Linked DNA regions of Homo sapiens: region 1 is linked to region 2. Evidence: promoter capture Hi-C in 16 types of primary human blood cells and fetal thymus (Javierre and others, 2016). All regions are on one chromosome and are shown on one strand. The core of a region is centred on a gene start or on the middle of the fragment in contact, and the rest is flanking DNA. Distances in the headings are between cores, read along the strand shown. Region 1 has its middle 12 kb from the start of SUPT20H. Region 2 holds the start of LHFPL6 (LHFPL tetraspan subfamily member 6).

Evidence for each region. The method cuts DNA at HindIII sites, captures the fragments that hold promoters and counts their contacts. A CHiCAGO score of 5 or more calls a contact.
Region 1: a fragment that was not itself captured here is called in contact with the fragment with the promoter of LHFPL6 in region 2 in 1 of 17 cell types (total CD8 T cells); the score reaches 5.2 in total CD8 T cells.

What each region holds. Positions count from the first base shown.
Region 1 is chr13:37,069,375-37,073,224 of GRCh38, reverse strand. No RefSeq gene overlaps it. Among named protein-coding and RNA genes, the nearest start is that of SUPT20H, 12 kb to the right of the region's middle. The HindIII fragment of the contact is 897 bases long and covers 1,339-2,235 here.
Region 2 is chr13:39,600,956-39,604,717 of GRCh38, reverse strand. It overlaps LHFPL6 (LHFPL tetraspan subfamily member 6), which reads left to right and starts at 1,525. Exons shown (of 4, transcript NM_005780.3): 1 at 1,525-1,835; 2 at 3,328-3,762. The coding sequence starts at 3,502. It overlaps LOC112268119 (protein SPT2 homolog), which reads right to left and starts at 3,394. Exons shown (of 4, transcript XM_035861111.2): 1 at 3,325-3,394; 2 at 2,178-2,268; 3 at 1,076-2,074. The coding sequence starts at 3,394. RefSeq lists a silencer at 1,331-1,630. The HindIII fragment of the contact is 2,884 bases long and covers 266-3,149 here.

The DNA of each region.
Region 1 (3,850 bases), core at 538-3,037, 2.5 Mb after region 2:
CTGTACATAAACAATTTCATAGACCATCAACAACAGACAAGGACACTCTCAGATTTTGATAAAGTGAGATAAAAACAAGGCCACTGTGCAACCCACAAATTACCAAACACCTCTTTTCTTTTGGCTAAAATTAATGACTGCTGCTTCTTTACCAAGTACAACTTTAGCCTCAATCTAGTCTGTCCTCTCTACACATAAGATTTATTAAGATACCAAATCAGAATTTCCCCTACTTCCTGACAACTTTAAATCCAGAGCAAAGCTCTACTCTTTGAGAACCTGCCCCAAGTTGCCAGCTAAAGCCCAAATCCTATAATAGATTACATTCTTTTTCTGAGCCCCCTATGAGTCCCTATGGTGACTGTTGTCCCTCTCTGCAAAAAATAACAAACCCTAGTTATTCAACCACAGGTGTGTGGCTGGCGGCCTTTTCCTGAAGGACACAGACACATAATGTACTATGTGTTCTCATTTATTCATTTCTCCCTCTAGGAAGTATCTCTCTGAGGGCCTACATGTTTATCCCTTTGGACACTGCTAATGTTCCCAGCAGTTAGAAGCATACCTAGTATATTAGAGGCTCTCAGGAAATAGTTATTAATGAATGAATATTGAGCACCAAGATTGGAGTAGGCATTAGAGATGTGTTAAAATAACTAAATGGGAGGCCATTAGACTGAAGTGGCTCTGACACCCTGGATTCCTACATAAGCAAACTGAAACCTAACGGAATTTTAAACTTTATCTCAGCAAATCACAAATGGCCAATTGGGCATTATTTATATTGTCTTGAATCTTTCACTGAAATAGTCCAAATAAGGCAATTGCTCAAACTTTAACCAGACAAATAATTTCTTTGCTTTCACATTCACCTTATAAAAGTTTTTCCTTCAACCTCTTCCAGGAGCCTCTATTTCTGTGTGAGCCCCTAGCCATTCCCTGCCTGTTTCATGGTCACAGTCTGCTCAAATAAACTCTTAGTTTTTAATGTGCCAAAGGTTATGTTTTAATAGATGCAAACGTGAATCAGAGCAAATCCTGGCGATGTTCTGCAGGCAGTGGCCCAGTTATACGAATGCCTGTTCAATAAGTTTGCCTGGATAAAGGAAGAAAGGGGCAAGAAATGAATCAAATTCTACAGTGGGGACCACTACGTTTCTCTGCTTTCAATGCCTGCTTTATTATTCTTTTCTTTTTCTCTCTTTCTTTATCAGGGTCACCCTCAGGAAAAAGTCAGACACACTCCCCTGAAACCACTGCTGGCTGGAGGAAACAGGTTTAGCATATGTCAATGAGAACCACACATGCTATGGAATTTCATGCCAAAGCTATCAAGCTTCCCTTTGACAGCCTCACTGAGAAAACAAGTCAATAGAGATTCATTAATTGGAATTTAGAAACCTTACTTATTTAAAAAAAAAAGGCTGAAAATTATTATACATTACAGAACAATGATTCTCACACTCCAGGGCACTTAAGAATCCCCTGAGGTGTTAAGAAAAAGAGACTTTTTAATTGAAATAAGTTTCTGAATTTATAATAAAATTAGCATTTTGAGATTAAAGTCTTAAGAAATCTAAATTTATAAACTCATAATTTTAATAAATTGAATATTCACTAAAACACCAGCAACTCCAGGTATTTTTTCAAGCCCCAAATCTTCCCTTGTCGAAACAAGGGAATTAGCAATGCACCTGACATTTATCAGGCATCTTTGTAAGTTCTGTTGCCTTTATTATATAAGGGCTCTCTTGCCTTTATAGCCTACCCACCTTCTTCTTTTCCTTGGATTCAGCTATTATCTTTCTGCTAATTATCAATAAATTAATAATTTTGATTAGGGAAATCTCTTTCAAGTTTGGTAATGTTATGGGATCTTTGAGGTGTCCTTCTCCTGGCTGGAAACCTGTGGCTGGTGGAGGCCTTGCCCAAGTTTTGCTCAGCCCACTGGGCTCGTTCTGCCCACTTGGCCTAGCAGGCTGTACTCAGCTCATGCTACTGGCCTGGATCCCACACCTCCAAGGGAGACAGTGAGTCAAGCATGGAGCAGCAAGAGTTGTGTGTGTGAGCACGGGGTCTGGCCACTGCGCAGTCAGACATGCAGCTGCTGCCATGGGGCGGGCAGCTCCAGATGCCAGCATAGGCGCCGGCTCTCAGTGAGGCTGCAGCTGGACAGGGCGCACCACAAGGAGCTTCCCTGGCTGGCACCAGGGAAAGCAGTGGTGCCTGGAAGCTTGGAGATGCCAGGAACCACAGGGCCTCAAAGAAGGAGTCACAGCCCTGGCTCAGGGAGCTCCCAGGTCTAGACTCCCCAAAGGGCCACAGCTCTCCTTCTCTCTGCCTGTAACGTGGGGAGCAAGGGGCATGTTTCAGCCCTGTTTGTATTACAGTTCTCTTAGCCTTGCCATTTAGTGGGTCCCAAGTTCTTGTCTTGTGACCAGGAAGAATGAGGTACGCATGCAAGTGAAGGGTGAGCAAGATGATGAAGAGCTTTATTGAGCGATAGAACAGCTCAGTCTCCCACAAGGGGCAGCTCCTTTCCTCAGCCAGGATGTCCCGTCAAGTGTTCAGCTCCTAACTGAGAGCTGGTAGCTCCTCTCTGCAGGCAAGTCGTCCCAACAAGTGTTCACTCTTGGCAGGGAGAGTGGCTCCTCTCTGCAGCTGTTCCTCCCATGGTCCAGCTACCAGCAGAGAGGGTAGCTCCTCTCTGCAGCTGGTCATCCCGTCATCTGTTCAGCTCTGGCTGAGTCCTGGGCTTTTATGGCCTCAGAAGTGCCCGCTGATTGGTCTATGAGAGGCCATGGCGGGTGGCCAGAAAAGCCACCACCTCCCACTCCTATCAACTGGATGGGCAGTCAGCCCCAAGCCTTCAGGCCTTCCCTGGCCTAACCAGGGACCTGCCCCCTTCTACCCTCTTAACAGCCTGTCTGCCTCCTGCAGCTGTCCATGGAGCCCAGAATGCTCGAGTCAAGGGGCACCTGTAGGCCAGCACCAAGCTGCTCTCAGCCACCCCTCGGCTTCCCCTGTACTCCTCAGTGCCCAAAGTCCGGAGGGGGTCTAGGCAGCAGGGGGCTGGCGTGTCAGCACTGCCCTGAGCTTGGCCCCAACCCAGCTCCAAGATCAAAGCAGTGCAGGGAACAGGGAGAGGCCAGGCAGGAGCAGGCTTCCCCGAGCCTGTGGGGACAGGGGGGCCTTCCTGACCTCAAGGGTACAGATCCCACAGACGGCCTGGGTCCTGCACCTGGGAAGGTGGGGCTCCTGCCTGCTCTGTGGAATGTGCAGGCAGCCCGGGCCATGCCTCCTCACAGCCTGGGGCGGGGGCTCCAGGTCCTTGCTGGGTGCCTCTCTGCCCACTCCTCTGTGCCCAATCGCGTGGCTCCATCACTCCCCCTCTGGGCTGGGCGACTTGGCCTGGCCTCATAGCGGCGGCCCCCAAGGGGCTGCGGGGCGGCTCCTGCTTGTCCTTGGCTCCCGCTGGTTCCGTGAAGCGTGAAGCGTGGCACAGCCCCGGGCCCAGCTCCGCCTCCTCCCCACGCCCTCCCCACAGCAGCAGTGCGTGGGTGAGAGCAGCAGTGTGGGGCCAGAGTCCCGAGTGATGAAAGCTCCGGGCCTAGGGTCGGGTCCCACCTGGCTGCATGAGTTTGGGGGCAGCACAGGAGGTTGCTTCCGGGACGTGGGGCACAGGGGACCCACCACCGCCACTGCTGCTCCCACAGCCGTTCCTGCTGCCACCCCTCGCACCTCCCCACTGCAGCCGGTGGGGTGGCAGTGGCCTCTCCGGACCACCCGCTGCCACAATCAATAAGTTACCAGACCTGATCCAGCCACAAATTGTCCCTGGTAGGGTCTA
Region 2 (3,762 bases), core at 276-2,775:
AAAACACTTAAATTGGGGATTCTGAATATGGGATTCATGGATGGGCTTTAAGGGAATGGGAAACCACCTGATATTTCATTCAAATGATTGACATTTTGGCCCAGGTAATTTTGGGGACTGTCCTGTGCACTGTATTTAGCAGAATCTCGGGTCTTTACCAACTAGATGCCAGTAATACTCCCCATTCATGGGTTATGATAATCAAAATTATCTTCAGACCTTGCCAAATATCCCTTTCCTTCTTCAGAATCGCTGTGGTAAAGCTTTATATGTCCGCGCATTTTTTTTTCTGGAAGGCTTATCAGTTTCATCGTATTTTTTAAAAGACCTGTGACCTCAAAAGGCTTGGAATCAATCACTTAAGGTCTTTCAAAATAATAATAAAAGAACACATATCTCCAGCTGTCGTTGTGGGAAAAATGTACACCATCACGGCTAATTAAAATGGTGCAGTCTGAAAATCTGCTATGAAATATATACCTACCAATTTATTACTTTCAACTCCTCTAAAAAGACACCTCACAAAAACTATATCTGGGAAACTGTCTACTTCAAAAACTGCTGTTCCCAGATGGCATACTTCTTAAAATACTGTGTTCAGCAGAGACTCCCACAGTCATCTACTGAATCTAGCTCTAAACTTCTAAAGGGGTTAGTGCTAATGACAAGTGGAAAAAGTCCTCAAGTCCAGAGGGGAACTAAAAATCAGTTGTTTCTCAGAAAAGAAATCAAACGATGGAATAAATTGCAAAATTGATCAGGAGGCAGGATGGAGGAGAAGGGAGGGAGGAAGTGAAGGGAAAGGGAGGGAGGGAGGGAGAGAGAGACAGAGAAACAGCAAGAGAGAGAGAGAGAGACCTTTGAAAGAGTGTATCTCTTGGGAGAGGCTCGCTAGAGGTCCGCCCCTGCCTTCTCCCTGGCTCGTCTGGAAAGGCAGCTGCCCCCATGCCATACATGAGCCTTGGGCTGTCTGCTGTGCTTTAATTCCCACGTCCACAACCGCCTCATTCACCGCCTTCCAAAGTGACCACTTCTCAAAAGCCTCCTCAAATCTCAAAGGGGCCACTTTACCCACTCTTTAAGGCCCTCTTTCCCGTCTACGGCTTCTTTTAACGGCGGCAGGAAAACAGGAGCATAAACCCGAACAGTAAACCCAGAAAAGCCCCAACAGGCAAAGTGTGTCATCTTCCGTGGCTCCTCGGGGTCACCCAGGAAGACAAGCAACTTTCTCCCATACTTCTCGGTCTGTCTGCCTTCCCCACTCAGCTTTGAATGAGACGCAGGGAGAGGGGGCGCGAGGGGGCTCGGGGCTAGGGGAGGAGCCGCGAAAGCTGCCCCCGGGGGTGGGCCTGGACCCGCGCGGACAGCGGGGCACCCCCCCACTCCCTTCCCGGCGCTCCAGGAACGTCCCCGGTGCGTCCTGGGTCTGTCTGCGCGGAGTTCCCCGGGGCGCGAGGGGAGGGGACTGGAGAAAGAGGAGGGCCGGGCAGCGGAGGGGAGGAGGCGGTGCGTGCCTCGCCTGCCAAAGGGAGATCCGCTCCTCTGCGTGCGATCCCCGGCGCCCGCGCGCGCCCACAGCGCTCCGCCAGAGCTGCCGCCGCGGACTCGCCGGGAGTGGGGGTCTCCGCTGGTGCCAGCCCGCTTCTGGAGACCCTCCGCCTCCTGCCAACCCCTGCTCTTCCAGGTCGGGCCCCGGGGTTCTGCGGCTGTTAGGGACAGAGGCAAAGAAGGGCAGGACGGTCCGGTTTCCCGTGGATGTTCCCGCCCGAGAAAGACAGCAAGTTGTGTGTGCGCCCGGGACGCGGGAGGGAAGGTGGCCGCCGCCCGCCAGCCATGTAAGTAAATCACTCGGCTGCCCCGTGGGCGTGGGCTCCGCTGCTTTCTCCCGGGCTCCCTCTCTGCCCCGGAGCCGGAGTTGGGCTGCTCCCGGGCTCCGGACTTCCTGAGCTCGGCGGATCCGTCGGCTCTGCCTGCCAGCCGCGTCCGCTCTTGGCGTCTGCCTCCGGGGGGTGCTGCCTTCCCATCCTTATCCCCTCCCTTCGTCCAGAGCCGGCTGGAAAATGCCTCTTGCCCCCTTTTAGAATGGAGGGATCATTGTGTGTCTCCATGGGTGGAGTGGCTCGGTGAGGCAATGGCAGGGGGCTAAATATGGGCTTGTCTTGGCGAGGGCGCCTCACCGCAGTTGGAGATGGGGGCCCCCTGCCCGCAGGCCACCCCCTGCTGGTCTTCCCCAGCCTCGTGGCCCAGATAGATCAACTTCAGCCCTGACTGCAGTTGACAAGATTAGAAAAAAAAGTAGTAGCCGACCTCCCGTTTGAGTGACATCCAGAACTGAAAATGGGCGGTGGTTAGAGAAAAAAACGGGTAGGGGCGAGGTGAAGAAAGGGGGAAATTTGCTATGGACCCTGAAAGCTGGAGTTAGGGGTCCTGGGGGTGGAATTCTAGGGTGGATGGGCTCTGTGCTTCTGTATTCATTTCTTTATGGAAAGTGTGAGAAATGGTTAAGGAACTCTTTTTGAAAGGCTGGGGTGGAAGTAGATGCCCCTGGAACCATTTGGATGACTGGGGTTTGATGTAGCATACTGGGAAGTATGGATTGCTGTTCAAATTAGACAATCATTCAGTGGGAGAAATGATTGCAATAGAACTGTTGGAATCAATGAATCAAAACTGCAGACTCAAAATAAGTCATACACAGGCATTCTTTTACACTAGAAGATGTTAAGACTAAAGAAATTCTGAAATGCTGCTGAATGAGTACAAAGAGTGTCTGGTAATAGTTCTGTACTGTGGGTGCCTCCGCAGACCATAATGCTTGTTAAATTTATGGTACTCTGCAATTGTGAAAAATTATCCTAATTAGTTTGTTTGGCTCATGCAGAGAGTTAATGCACCCTTAAAGGGACATAGAAAAGTTGCAACAAACTATGAGCATGAACTTGCAAGCCAAAAAATGGAAATCATGGCATGGTTCATTTTATTTTAATTGTTTATTGCCCAGTGAAAGTGCTACATTACTTTTAATGTGAGTATATAATATATAGAATGAATTCATTGGCCTGTCAAATAAAAATCGGGCGTTTCTTTAAGTAAATAGCTGTCAGAGTTAATTTGGAAATATTTACGGAAGATAAAGACATGAAAAAGCTTTGAGCTGGTTTGACAAAAATCGAGTTATGAAGCTCATAGAGAGAATTAGTTCTTCCCACTTTTAAAGTGTTGAGGCAAGTCTCAATGTTTATTAATTGAAAATTGTAGACTAGCTGAAACAGTGTTATCACTTCTTTTAATGCCTTTAATTTTTAATGTTTCCTGTTGTTTTACCAGGGACCATCATCTTTAGTGCAGAGGATGGAAAGTTGATGCCCAGTAAGACTGAAGATCCATTCTGCATTACGGAACTGTGGATTATCTGTGGGTCCCTGGTGATTTCACACCTTCATTCACTCCTGCAGTCCCTGAACACTTACTTGGGGTCCTCATTGCCCTATCTGGTGAAAGATGGCATCCAGCCTGACTTGTACTGGAGTAATCTGGGCTTTGCTGTCTTTTCTTTGTGCTGCCACCTCCTGCGTGGGGTTCTTTATGCCTTACTGGCTCTGGGGATCACAGCTGGGCAAGCCTGTGTCCTTCGGTACCTTCCGGAGGTGCTCATATCCTGTGCATGATGAGAGTCGGCAGATGATGGTGATGGTGGAGGAATGTGGGCGCTATGCCTCCTTCCAGGGCATCCCCAGCGCAGAATGGAGGATCTGCACCATA